5 separate regions of the Homo sapiens genome follow, and regions 2, 3, 4 and 5 are each linked to region 1. Evidence: promoter capture Hi-C in 16 types of primary human blood cells and fetal thymus (Javierre and others, 2016). All regions are on one chromosome and are shown on one strand. Each heading gives the region's core, a stretch centred on a gene start or on the middle of the fragment in contact. The rest is flanking DNA. Distances are from core to core; before and after follow the strand shown.

What was found. Contacts are between HindIII fragments. The CHiCAGO score rates a contact against its expected background, and 5 or more counts as called.
Region 2: a fragment that was not itself captured here is called in contact with the fragment with the promoter of HSF2 in region 1 in 3 of 17 cell types (naive B cells, total CD4 T cells and non-activated CD4 T cells); the score reaches 12.4 in naive B cells.
Region 3: a contact is called between a fragment that was not itself captured here and the fragment with the promoter of HSF2 in region 1, in 2 of 17 cell types (naive CD4 T cells and activated CD4 T cells). The highest score is 9.1, in naive CD4 T cells.
Region 4: a contact is called between a fragment that was not itself captured here and the fragment with the promoter of HSF2 in region 1, in 3 of 17 cell types (total CD4 T cells, non-activated CD4 T cells and activated CD4 T cells). The highest score is 10.6, in total CD4 T cells.
Region 5: a contact is called between a fragment that was not itself captured here and the fragment with the promoter of HSF2 in region 1, in 5 of 17 cell types (total CD8 T cells, activated CD4 T cells, total CD4 T cells and 2 more). The highest score is 12.4, in total CD8 T cells.

What each region holds. Positions count from the first base shown.
Region 1 is chr6:122,398,341-122,401,040 of GRCh38, reverse strand. It overlaps HSF2 (heat shock transcription factor 2), which reads right to left and starts at 1,389. Exons shown (of 13, transcript NM_004506.4): 1 at 1,211-1,389. The coding sequence starts at 1,303. RefSeq lists silencers at 944-1,063, 1,334-1,653 and an enhancer at 594-1,093. The HindIII fragment of the contact is 3,471 bases long and covers 1-2,700 here.
Region 2 is chr6:119,334,152-119,336,851 of GRCh38, reverse strand. All of the region lies in intron 2 of MAN1A1 (mannosidase alpha class 1A member 1), which reads left to right. Among named protein-coding and RNA genes, the nearest start is that of MAN1A1, 14 kb to the left of the region's middle. The HindIII fragment of the contact is 2,233 bases long and covers 214-2,446 here.
Region 3 is chr6:119,072,179-119,074,878 of GRCh38, reverse strand. All of the region lies in intron 1 of FAM184A (family with sequence similarity 184 member A), which reads left to right. Among named protein-coding and RNA genes, the nearest start is that of MIR548B, 4.4 kb to the right of the region's middle. The HindIII fragment of the contact is 1,135 bases long and covers 767-1,901 here.
Region 4 is chr6:125,777,551-125,780,250 of GRCh38, reverse strand. TRE-CTC1-7 (tRNA-Glu (anticodon CTC) 1-7) reads left to right here; the gene lies at 1-4. Among named protein-coding and RNA genes, the nearest start is that of TRE-CTC1-7, 1.4 kb to the left of the region's middle. RefSeq lists a silencer at 1-82. The HindIII fragment of the contact is 156 bases long and covers 1,266-1,421 here.
Region 5 is chr6:119,350,217-119,352,916 of GRCh38, reverse strand. It overlaps a transcript of MAN1A1 not described here. Among named protein-coding and RNA genes, the nearest start is that of MAN1A1, 1.8 kb to the right of the region's middle. RefSeq lists a silencer at 2,596-2,700. The HindIII fragment of the contact is 276 bases long and covers 1,204-1,479 here.

The DNA.
Region 1 (2,700 bases), core at 140-2,639:
ATGGTATTACAGAAGTCAAAACTTCAGGGTCTTAATATGGTGCTCACTCCCTGTTAAGACAAAAGTAAATAAAACTAAGAGTTCCTATAATAGGAGAACAGGAAAGAAAGGAGGACGGGAGATAACATTTACTCAGCACTTAACAGGTGCCAGGCACTATGCAGGTAGTTTTCACTTATTCTTCTCAAGAACTACACATATGAAAATATGCCTCAATAGGTGATCATCTACAATAAGAGTTAACCACTTTCCTTCATAAAAATGATTCCAACAGCCTAGGAGTGTATTCTAATGCACATGCACTGTGGATGTAAATAATCATTCTGCCTAAAATCTTGTATTTGGGACTGATATAGGTCTTGGGTCACCTAGGCAACCCATCCATCTTATGAAAGATTTAACTTAGGCCAGACAAGATAAAGGGCTGGACTAAGGTCATGCTTGTTTAGAAGCAGAGTTGAGATCAAACCAATAATCAACACATCGATATGCCCCTCTGCTGGTAACTGTTCAGCGAAATTTAGTAACTACTAAGTTACCACCTATTAGTACTTTATTAAAACAATCCTAATAATCCCATTATACAAATAGCACAGAATCTCAAAAGAATAATTTGTTAATTTCTATATATTTTTAAAACCAACTGATAAGCAGTAACCTGCGTTTGAACGTATGTCTATTGCCCTGACTGCTCTCCACATAAAGATGCCAGATGCAAAGCAATGTTGGGGGAACTGGGGGTGATCGGTCGCTGAGGTAAAGATCGCCTCCTATAAAGCCCCACGTTGATGATCCTGGCCCTGGGCTCCCTGTCCCCTCCGCGATTTGTAACCCCTGAGCCGGGCGGGAGGACGGAGGATGAGTGTGCAGTAAAGAGGCTCCCGCGCCCTCGGCTCGCCGATTCCCCTCGCGACGCCGGGCCGGTTCCGAACGCGGACCGGACCGTTAAGGGGCTGCCTGGGCCGCTACGCCCCGCGCGGGCCGCCCCTCCCCCACCGCGGCCTGAGGAGAGCGGCGCTGCCGGCCGGGCCCCCGCGGCTCCCCGAGCGAACAATACAGGGGGTCCCCCGCGAGGCTGAACGCCAAGGCCCCGCACCGCGGGCCTCGCAGACAGCGTCGAGCCGCAAGGCCGCGAGAGACCACCCCGCAGGAGAGCGAGTGAGGAGGCGGTTATTCAGGGGGTTCAGAGGCCGCCGTGGCCTGACCGTACCTGGCTCCAGGTGATGAACTCGTTAGTGTGGGTTTCCTCCACAAGCGTCCACAGCTTGCTGAGGAAAGCCGGCACGTTCGAACTCTGCTTCATTGTTAACGCGGCGCAGGGATTCCAAATTCTACACCCGAACGCGGTGGTAGCGGCGGCGGCAGCTACGGCAGCAGCTCCCCGAGAACGCCCACAACGCAGGCGCAGCAGATCTTGGTCCCCGCCCCCCCAACCCCGCCAGGCGCGCGGCAAGGCCGAGAGGCCGGGCGGCCGCACGTGACGGACAAGTCTCCGCGCTCCGCCTGTGCGCGCAGTGGTTCCGCGCCTGTCCCGTCCCTGGCCAATCCCAGGAGCCGACTGCACGACAGAGAAAAGCGATTGGCTGCTGCTGACATGAAGGGGGTGGGAGCAGAAGGGGGTGGGAGCAGAAGGGGGCGCTGCCTCCTCATTTGCCTTTTATACAGAAGCCTTGATGGTAGCAGACTTAGGCTTGGGAGACCGTGTTTGGATGTTTCACGTGGAAACAGCTTATGGTTTCTGGGCTGTGGCTGGGAGGCTACAGAAACCCTTCAGGGCCTTTGAGTCATAAGTTTGGCAGGCAAAGTGTGGTTTGCACCAGTTTAGAGAAAGGATCCATTTGCATAAGGAAAAAACCAGCTCTCAAGCATGATGTGCTAGGCCCCAAATTGAAATTGTCTTAAAAATAATGAAACTTGTTCTTACATTTTCATTGGGAGAAAAAGCCCTCTTTAAAATATGTTTATCAAAAAGAGCAGTTTAAATAACTCACTCTCGATTACTTAAAACTGTAAACCAGGAACTGCAATTGATATATCATGTGCTGTTTTTAATCCAGTCATCAAGTGCCTACTCTGTACCCAGAATAAAAAGAAATAGACTCATTTGTACTATTTTAGTTAATTAAAATAGTTTTTCCTGCGTATACTTTACAGATATAGTCTTTTTTGCCTAAGAGATTGGTATAGTGGAAAAAACAATGGAAAAGGAGTCAGTAGATCTCAGTTTAGATAAAGCCTCTTGGACATTTTTCTGTATATTAAAATACACTGGTTCTGTCATTTAGAACAATTCCTTAGCCACCAGTGCCAGTTTTTTCCATTTCTTGACTGGGAATAAGATCTATCTTTTTACCCACTAAGAGTGTCTTTAATACTATAATGGCTGTGCAAATGCTTTGAAAATATGAAGTCTACAAAATTCGACTTTTTTTTTTTACAAAAGTCAGCATGTGAAGGCAAAAACTTACAAACAAGTCAGAGATAACATACAAAACTTCAACATAGGATTGGTTTACTTCTTGGGTGAATGTAAAATAGTACATTAAATATATATCTATCATTTAATGGAAGATATATGTATATCTCTTCCAATGAGCAAGTATTTAGTGAATGCTGCCTTTGTGCTCAGCACTGGGATGTTGGCTGAAGCAAAATCAGATATATGGAGGCATGCATGTGATAGAGGAAGTAATATTTGAT
Region 2 (2,700 bases), core at 81-2,580, 3.1 Mb after region 1:
TTTTATACAGGATATACCTAGAGTTGGTTTTGTTTTGTTTCCATTTTGGCAAAATTTTTTGAGAGATAAAGGTGTCTTAATGAGTAATGCTTACAGTACCACACTAAAATGAAAAGTCATAGGTTAGCTATTATTTTCCACTAGAGAAATCAGAATTACATAAACATGTTCCTCCCTAAGAAGGTGTGATATTTTGAGAAAGAGAAAGAAGCTTGGTTTTCTATTTCCCAATTTCATATTGTTTCTCCTGAAAAGTGCTGTGTCATATAAATAATTGCATGGTAGAGGCTCAATGAATTTTATGCATTTGTCAGTGGTCCCTTTTGCAGTTTATTCTACAGATGACTATTAATATTCCTAAAACATCACTTCTCTCGTATTGCCCAACTCAGGTTTTAATGGTCCTCCATTTCCTATAAAGTAATGATTCAGACTTCAACATGCATCAGAATCACCTGGAGGGCATGTTAAAACAGATTGCTGGTGCCGGGCGCAGTGGCTCACACCTGTAATCCCAGCACTTTGGGAGGCCGAAGGGAGGATCACTTGAGGCCAGGAATTCAAGACCAGCCTGGCCAACGTGGTAAAACCCTGTCTCTACGAAAAATACAAAAACTAGCCAGGTGTGGTGGCGTGAGCCTGTAGTCCCAGCTACTCGGGAGGCTGAGGCAGAAGAATCACTTGAACCCAGGAGGCGGAGGTTGCAGTGAACCGAGATTGTGCCACTGCACTCCAGCCTGGGTGACAGAGTGAGACTCTGTCTCAAAAAAAATAATAATAAAAAAATTTTGAAAGCCTGGAGTTTCTGATTCAGTAGGCCTGGGTGGGCCCCAGAATTTGCATTTTTAGCATGTTGCTAGGTGATACTGATGCTTCTGGTCCAGTGACTTCAGCTAGAAAAACATTTTGCTCTAGAATGAAGTCACAGTGAAGTCACAAATGTTTAGCTTGGCATCCGTAGTCTTCTGTAAATCTGCATCAGTTTATTTGTTGAGTTGTATCTCTGTTACTTCCCAGGAAGGACTGTGCTTCCACAAAACTTACATAGTTACTATCTCCAGAACACATGTCGTTTAGGATTTCACCTTGTTTACTTTATGGTTCTCAAAAGGAGAGTCTTCTCACTTGCTCAAAATCCATGTCCTCATGAAGCCCTCTCTACACTCTCAACCTTCACTGATTTCTCCCTTCTCCAAATTCCCATGTTATTGATTATTTCTATCTTTGGCCTGTGTGTCACTGATTTTGTGTGCATATATGTTATCTTTCAAGTAGATTTCAGACACCCTAGAAGTGGGGACACCTTTTTTATCTCATAGGTCCGTGGCCCAGAATTTGACAATAAAAGGCAATTCATCCTAAATGTAACCCAGATTAAGTATATCAACAAAATGTTTTATAAATGTGAGGCAGTATGGCAGAGTAGAAACACTTCTGTCCTCCCTTTCCACGCCTTTGAAATGGAGTTAATAATTCCTCTTTTTCAGAGTTGTTGTAAGAATTAAAATAGAAAATGTATGTGAATCTCTCAGCGCAATGCCTGGCATGTATCATTCATTATTCAATACATAGTATGTACTTACTAGCAGCTAGGAATTGGTAGGAGTGATAAGGAAAGGGGTTGGTAGGTAAATTGGATTCAGAAAGTCATTTCCAGGAAAGAAAAGTATGTTTTGGCTGCAGTATTGCTGTATTGACCAATAGCTTCTATTTTCTATTGTTGCCTCCCCTTTTAGTTGTTGTTGCCAAATTTCTCACTTCCTATGGCAGGAAAGTAAGCATTATTTTGCCTTGTTAGAATTGTTATTACACAGAAGGGATGCTCATCCTCAGGAAAACCATAGAGAGGGTGTTGAATGGAGTGGTTCCTCATTCATTCATCAGTGTCCAGTTACTTCTGACTTCTGGGCCTGCTGTCACACAACACTCAGATATGTGGGGAGGAAAGAAAGCCAGGGATAAAGAAATCTGGAGAAATACCTTCAGGGCATAGAAAGAAATAATTTTTGTGAGCTGAAAAGCTGAAAATGTTTCATTCAGAGATAACTACATGTGTAAATTTAGCTCAATAATTAGGCATATGGTGCTTTCATTTTAGGATGTATCCACCCTTTGTGATAATATCCGTTGATTATTAGAGCTGCTGCAGCTTTAACTACATTGGCAGCAGAGATTCCTAGTGCATTTAAGACAAGAATTCAAGAGTGAAATGGAAAACTGAATTAATAATTTGTTCTTGGGTGGTTTTAATCTGCTCCTTAAATGTAGTTTATGCCTGGAGGATTAGATTTGGAAACAGAACACCAACTAATGTTCTAAAAGTTTACTTCCTTTTATTGGAACATTATACTCTTAAAGATTTTCAGAAGAACATTTTGGCTGTTTTAGTCTTAACATACGAGGTACACTTAAGTTCTTATGATTCAACCTAAAACAATAGAAAGCTTTTAATCTATGATATAATTTTTAACTTTTAAAGTATTTCATGTTAGACTTCAAGGCAGGAATTGTTTAATAAAAACCAACTAATAAAAGGAAAGATATTCTTTGTTGGGCACGAGGATATTTGGGTCTCTTTTCCCAAGCTTTTTAAAATCCCCCTAGGTCTATATTTTTCAATCTTAGAATTTAAAATCTGCTTGCTGTTGATGGTAAAGAAAATAGGAAAATTAAAATCAAAGGTTATTTCTGTTTACTTCC
Region 3 (2,700 bases), core at 85-2,584, 3.3 Mb after region 1:
GACACAGTCCCTGCCTTTTAAAGGAAGTCTAGCATATTTGGGTCACTCGTGTCAAGTTTTAAGAATTAATATTAGATTCTTGAGCTACATTATGGCAAGTTTCTGCAAATGTTAATGGCTGAACTATCTCAAGATAGGCAGTGAAGCTGGATGGATTCAATTATGTTTTATAAGACCACATTTGTATACTTCTGTGCTCTCCACTGTGTTGACTTTTCAGGATATCAGGTTGAAAAGCAGGCCTTGTGGGATGTAATTATAAAAGCTTTTTTTTTGTCACTTTCAAATTACTTTTTTTCCCTTTTTGTCTCTTTCAATTTACTCTTTGAGACTGGTTCATCCTCTTTCATGGGTTAACTTAATTTTTCTGGTTGCTTTTAGATAATACAAATCATCCTTCAGTAACAAAGTCACAAAAGTCTCAATTTGATTATTAAAATTAAAATGCCCAGTACCAACAAGTAAAAACTGCAGACCAAGCCTGAAATAAAGATGAAGCTTCTCCCTTAACTGGTCTCTTGCTCTGTCTCTTGCAAGGGGGAAACCAGTAACTAGGGAAGGGGGTATTATTGCCTTTTTACTTCTTACCTGGTTTTTCTACTCTTCCTGCTTTGTCTTGCCAGTTCTGGTTTCTCACCCTTCCAAAGTTGGTCAAGGAAGAAGTGAAAAGAGTAAAGAGGAGCAGCAAACTTTTACTTGATTAGTGAAGAAGCTAGCTGGTGATCTAGTTTCAGTGCTTTTGTAGCCGTTGCAGATGTTTAAAGCTTATTCTTTCACTGGTGAATCTTCTACCTCCCACCTCAGTGGCTCTAGATTTTCACCTCAATTCCTTGACAGTGAGAATTCCCTTATGCGCTGATTGGTTGCTTACTCCTTCCTCAGCCTCTTGGAGCTAGCAGTACCTTCACCTCCACTTTGCTGAGGTCTGTGCAAACTCTAGATACCCCTCTTGCATGGACTTGTGTGATCCCACCCCAGGTTGTTCACTCTTCCGTAGAGGCCACATAGGGAGCACTCATTCTTTGCACAAACTCTGCTAGTGGTCCCAGTTCAGCCCTCTCTCTTGTTCTCACATGCCTCTTCATGCAGCTTCTCATCATTTAGATTTTCTGGGGATTAATCAGGTACCAGGTTAGCATGTTCTTCAAAGTGCTTGAGGCACATGTCAAGTTCTTCAAGTCATTCCCTCAAAGCCTTTTTCCCTAGGCTTTAGGTGTGGGACAAGCATCTTCCACCCTTCCCCCTTGAAGACACAGGCCCCTGTTACCACAGCTCTCCCCAGGGAAATCTCTGAAACCTACTCTGTAATCTTCTTGAAGCACCACCTCACTAGTGGTGGGGGTGGAAAGTAACACATCTCAGCACTCTTCTTTAGACTGCCTCTTGACATTTTCGAGAATGTTCTGGCAGCTGCTTTGGAATGTCATTTCTATCGTCTCTGGTTCTCAGCAGAAACTTCCCTTTTAATACCTTGTTATGTTAGCTGCTTATCAAATCCCTCTTTAGTTGATTGCACTTTTGATACAGAGTCTGTTTATCACTTAACTAGTATAGACATAAGTAATATATGGTACAGTGTAAGTTCCCAAACAGCAGGAAGTAGTTTATTTTGTGTTTTCTGTGCTTAGCATCAAGTCCTCTTATTTAATACCCAGCTTATGGCTCTTCTACTAAAACTGTCCTGACCAGCTACCCTTGTTGGGCTTTCCTTGCTGTGCGTTAGCATTGATTGTTGGTACCTCTTACTTGATACTTAATAATGCAAACTTGCAAATACTGTTTATTGTGTTTATAAATATACTTTGTTTTCATAATTTGACTGTAAGGTTCTCAGCTCTAGGGACTGTATCTTTTATTACATGTAACCTTAATATGAATGGTTTGCACATAGTACCAAAGCTTAATAAGTATTTACTGAAGAAGATGGTGGTCATAATGATACAGCAAGTAATTTTGTTATACAGCAGAGAAAGACAGTACTTTTTAGGAATTGTATCTGCTACTCTTCTGGGTTAATGATAGATCATTTCAGCTGAGTTAAATTATTCCTAAATATGTAAATGTTTATTGACTGCCCTTTAAACTGCTTCAAAAAGCTATTTTATTTCTTAATGTATTTTTGATGTAAAAAATACAAATATAATGTTCTTTGTCTACATTATAAGTATTTGACACTTCAGAATGTAGGTAATTAATATACTAGTTTCTTAGCAAATATAAAAAAGCCTTGTGATCAGTCATTTTATACTAACTCTGCTTTTACTATATCCAAAACCAGAATGTGTTTATATAACACCAAAACCAGTGAATTTTTCAAATAATACTATTTTCTGTACATGAAATAAATGATTTTTCACTAATTGGTTTGTTTGAATTATCTAGATACTCTTTCATAATAATTCTATATTGCTTATGACTTGAGTCTTTGAACAAGAATGGTAAGTGGCCTCATAAAACATAGCAATTGGCTGTGTTTCACCTTAGCACTAGTACATGCCAAATGCAGCATCTCTTTTTCTTTGTTACATTGTAGCTTTGCCATGCTGTTATGCAGTGGCTTGGATGTAATCTTTTAGTCATAGTGGAGTGGTTTGGATTAATTTGTTGCATTTTACTAATGGACACAAAAGCATAGTATCCTGTTAATTAACTGGTCACAAACTTATAAAGGGACTTCCTTTAGAGTTAAAGATTTAGAGT
Region 4 (2,700 bases), core at 94-2,593, 3.4 Mb before region 1:
GGAAGTCTTGTTTTTCTTGACATTCGTATCCTTCATGCAATTTAGAAGTCAAGAGTTTTGTGTAGTTTTCACTTGCTGGTTGGGTTTTTTTTTCATAGTTTTTTTTTTTCTTTATAGTTTTTTTTTTCTTTTTAAATCATAAGTTTTATGTACTTTTCATTCGCTTGTTGGGGTTTTTTAATCATTAAAAATTGACCGTTTTAAAAGTTTATTTAATCTAAGGCTTAAAATACGCCATCTCTATTTACAGGTAATGTAATTTATAATCAATCAAATAACATAAAGTTCTGTGATTCTAAAATTGTATTTTTCAGTTTTTAAAAATAATTTGGATGTGTTTACAAGCAGTCAGTTAAGCCTTTGTTTAACCTTGATTTTGTTTGACTAATAAAAGAGGAAGATAGTTTTATGAGGAATAATACTTATTCAGTATCATGCTTAGAGTTAATTTTTAGTTTTTCTGTACATTAAGATTATGTACTTTGGAGATTATTTGCCTATATTGGAGCTATTCCTACTCTCATCTCTATAAATATGAGATCTTTTCTGAGATGTATGGTTGGACATAGCTAGTTTATTGTGTTTTAATAACCCATTTAGTTAATGTTTTTTTGGCTAACTTTAAATTTTCTCTAAGAGATTTACACAAATATGGTAAATGTGTTACATCCAGAGTATCAATTCCCACTATATAAACCATATAGGCCCCTCAAAAATGCACCTACTTATCATTAGTAATTCCCACATTCAGGGTAAAGTAGAATTCTGGGAGTTCCTCAAAGGAAAATATGGCAATGTTGGAGTCAAAAAAAGAAAAATAGTGTTATATAGACATTAAGGGTTTTTTTGATCCTGAAAGTTCTAAACCATCCTAACCTTTGCCACTTACTGAGCTGTTGGATTTTTTTTTTTTTTTTTTTAATTTGAGACGGAGTCTCTCTCTGTCGCCCAGGCTGGAGTGCAGTGGCGCGATCTTGGCTCACTGCAAGCTCCGCCTCCCGGGTTCATGCCATTCTCATGCCTCAGCCTCCCGAGTAGCTGGGACTACAGGCGCCCGCCACCAGGCCCGGCTATTTTTTTTTTGTATTTTTTGTAGAGACGGGGCTTCACCGTGTTAGCCAGGATGATCTCGATCTCCTGACCTCGTGATCCTCCTGTCTTGGCCTCCCAAAGTGCTGGGATTACAGGCGTGAGCCACCGCGCCCGGCCCCGCCTTTTTTTTTTAAGGAGAAATTTCATCATAGCATAGAAACAGACTGAAAGCTTGATTGCAACTAAAATGAGTTTGTTTTGCTCTCCTTTTAGCTGTGCTGAGACTGATTGGGAAGAGGAGAATGCTGAGTACTTAATGTTCCAGGAAGTCCATTGTGATAGGTGCCATGGGGTTAAGAAAAGATGTGATTTTTGGTGCTTAAGAAGCTTTCACTTCATTGGATAATTAAGACAAAAATATGTTGCCACCATTAACAAAAATAATTGGCACCATTCATTGATTATTTGCTGCATATCAAGTACTTCAAATAATCACGATATATGGTAAAAGAAGGGAGAAGGAAGTGAGCACTAGAATCAAAATAGAGCTTGAAAACTGTTTTTCAAGCTGGACCTAAAGGCTAGAAGTATCCGGAATGCCTGAGAAAAGGAGAATGGACATTGCTTCTAAGGGATCCAGGATGACCATGGTCTAGTATTTGCAACGAAAAGGACTAACTGTGTCAGACTGGCTGTAGTAGGGAACCTGCGCTGGGGAACAGTGGAGATGAGGGCAGATAGGTGACTGCAGCTAGATTATGGAAGACCTTAAGACAAGTCAAGAAATTACGAAGGGAACCCAAGAGGACTCGATGTCTGATAGGATATAAAGGGTTAAGAATAGGGAGGAATCAGTTATGAATCCTTGATTTGTTCTGTGTGGCTAGTAAAACTGGGGTGGCATTAAAAGTAATAGGAAGGTTGAGATGGAGAAACTGATGAAGAAGAGAAGGTAAGTTCAGTTTGAGCCCCACAGAGGCAGCACAACTAAATGTGGTTGGAAATACAGAATGGGAATTTTGGTGATAATTAGGGTAGAAGGGAGAGATTTTGGAGCCATTAACTTAAAAGTTTGAGAAGATTTGAGCTCTTCCCAAAGAAAAAACCTATAAAAAGGAGAGAGGACCAAGGAAAAAACCCAGGAGAGTATACATTAAAGAAGAAGGGGAAGAGGTAGAAAATGGTGAAAGAGTAGTCAGAGAGGGGCCGGGCGCGGTGGCTCACGCCTGTAATCCCAGCACTTTGGGAGGCCGAAACGGGAGGATCATGAGGTCAGGAGATCGAGACCATCCTGGCTAACACGGTGAAACCCCGTCTCTACTAAAAAAAATACATAGCCCTTGTGGTGGTGGGCGCCTGTAGTCCCAGCTACTTGGGAGGCTGAGGCAGGATAATGGCGTGAACGTGGGAGGCGGAGCTTGCAGTGAGCCAAGAAGATCGCACCACTGACCTCCAGCCTGGGCGACAGAGAGACTCTGTCTCAAAAAAAAAAAAAAAAAAAAAAAAAAGGAAGAGTAGTCAGAGAGGTAGTAATAAAAGGATAAGAGAGCTTCAAGAAGGAAGTAGCGGTGAAGAAAAGAGCATACTGTAAAGAGATCAAGGAGAAAACGGAGGAGATTAAGCACAGTCAGATGGTAAGACAGTGACTGTTGGGTACAGAACAGACTG
Region 5 (2,700 bases), core at 92-2,591, 3.0 Mb after region 1:
TTACTGTACATGTAGATTAAATTCATTTCTTTCACTAGATTAAGTTTTATTTAAAGTAAGAGAACAAAAATCCTCAAAAGGATTCTTCCACAAACTTCTAACTAGTACTGCCTAGAAACTTCCTAAGAAATGTTTTTGCACTTCAATTTTTGAGAACTTATAATTTTATAAAAATATAAATTTATCAGTTTTATAAAAATATTGCCAATTTTTCCTCTGTAAGTCTGCTCATAATTATTACTATATTTCATTTTAGGCATGTTAATGTAAAAATTAAATCTACCTTTTGGTAATTTCTTTTGAAAGTAGAAAAATCTAAGCAACAACATTTATTTGGGGATTTCTTTGTAGTGTTTTGTGGTATCACTGATGATCAGGTTTTTAAAAAATTACTTGATTCAAAGATATAATCTTGAAACACAAAAATTTACAAATTATCAAAGAAATACACAAAAACATTAAGTATTGAAAAAGGAAAATGTAAGAATTAAGTTTGCAAGCAAACCTGCAAAAATTACAAGAGAGTTATACTTCAAAAGGACTGGCTGGCCAAATAAAAAAACATAGCAAGTATTTTTTTAAAAATCCCACAAAATTACTAAGGTTCTTAGGTTTACATTAGACCATCCATAATGAGAAACAGCAATTTCAGCACTATCATTGCATTCATAAAGATGGTGACATTACCTTCAGGTAGATGTGGCTAGGGAGTCTTGACTTAGGGGACAAAGTCAAGGTTTCATTACTTAAAAGACAAGAACCAATCACCTTTATTTTTATCTCAGGGTACAAAGTACTTTTTTCAATGGTAGAATGTCAAGTGCTTTGTAGTACTGAAATCAGAGGAAAGTGTCCGATTTTGCTTCTACAAAATGCACAATTTTACTTGTTGACTATTTTCTACTCCTCCCTTACCATGAGCACACAGGGCTTCATGTGATTATTTTAAAGAGGATGCATAATTCGATTGCTATGCCTCTTCAGATACCTTCTTTGTGAATTTTTCAAATTTGCTCTGGCCCAAATATTGGTGTTCCTATATAGTTCTTATCCCACCTAATGTACACAGACACCCTTTAATATGTACCTATAATCAACCACCCATGTTAACTTCTTGTTTAACATATTATCAAAGCCAGGCTGCAAGTATAACCCTGTCATTTAAGAAATACGGAAAATAAGAAAAAAATCTTAAAATAAGCTTCATGATGAACTTAAAAAGAATAGTTACTTTAAAAGATGTAGAAACAACATAGATAAATTTAAAGTTTTTAGGGGAAAAAATCCTTAAACCCACGTACTAAATTTTTAATATTTCCACTACAGAAGTTAAATGCCCAAACTGATTTGGTATCAAAATTAAAGTGTCAGAAATAGAATTAAGTTATAACTTTTATTTATCACCATTTTAACATATACTTAAAAGTGGAATTTATTGTTTTGCTGGAATACTTAATAACATTAATTTGAAATAAAGCTTCTAAATATTTCCGGGGCTATAATTCCATTCTTACAACATAATTTTTAAAATAATAAATCATTCCAAAAAAGGATGATCATAAAGAGATTAGCGTTTGGGGTAGTTAACCCAGTTCCTATTTATCTATCCATTCAAGAGGTAACTCAGTTTTAAGGATGTTGTTAGAAACATTATTTCACAGTGATTCAAACCTTTCAGCCTATGCACAACCTACAAATGCATAATCGTTTGAAATAAAAATTGCCTTTCCATCATTAAAGAAAAATCATCTTTGTTTTCTTTTTCAGTCCTTCTGAACTTATTACCCTGCTTGGATATGCTGCACTCTTCTGGACATAGAATTTCATAGCAGGTATCAAAATAACCAAGCCATAAAGCCAGCTTTATCAAACAATAATTTCCTATTAACAAGAACTTTGAGTGTATTACTCATTTTACACAAAACAAGTAGACGACAAATAATGATGGTTAAAATTAATAATTAAATGATTAAATGAAAACTAGTAAGGATTTCTGATTACTTTTCTACTTTCTCATACAGCTTAACACCTGGAAACAACTGTACTGGAGCCACCTTCCCGAAAGGTGCCAGCTGTTTCCTTTGTCTTAAGCACAAACAGAACTAATGTCACATTTCCAGAGAAGGGTAAGGATGAAATAAGGCGACTACAAACCAGCTTTCAGAAATGCGAAGTCAGTCAACGTTTTCCTCTCTGATAACCCCTTATTTGTGGAGCAACAGGAGAATTACAACACATTTTGGAAAATAATTTCTATTGGACCAACTCCTCACTTCGCTGGAAGTAGTCGGATCCAAGACTTAATTTCAACACAGTGTTCGACTTATTGCTTGAAGCTACCGCAGCATAAAACTCGTCTTCGAATGGAAAATTTGACCAACTTCTATGAGGTAAATGAATAGTGAAAGTACGGGTGGGCGGGAGAGACATACAAGTTTTTTCGGTTTTTTGTTTTTTGGGGGAAGAAAGGGCGCATACGAAAAAAGTCCTAAGCAAGCACAGAACTGTGTCTCTTAGGATGTAAAAGGATGTTATACCAGAGAGCTCAAAAGCTCCCAGGGTCACGGCTCCCCTAACCGAGGGACTTGGGGTTTCACTGCTACCAGGCACCCGGGGAACCCCGGCCTTGGATAAAAAGAGGGTAACTGGAGTAAAGCCGTGCTTCTGAACGACCCAGCGCCCAGGACCCCCTGCCAGACC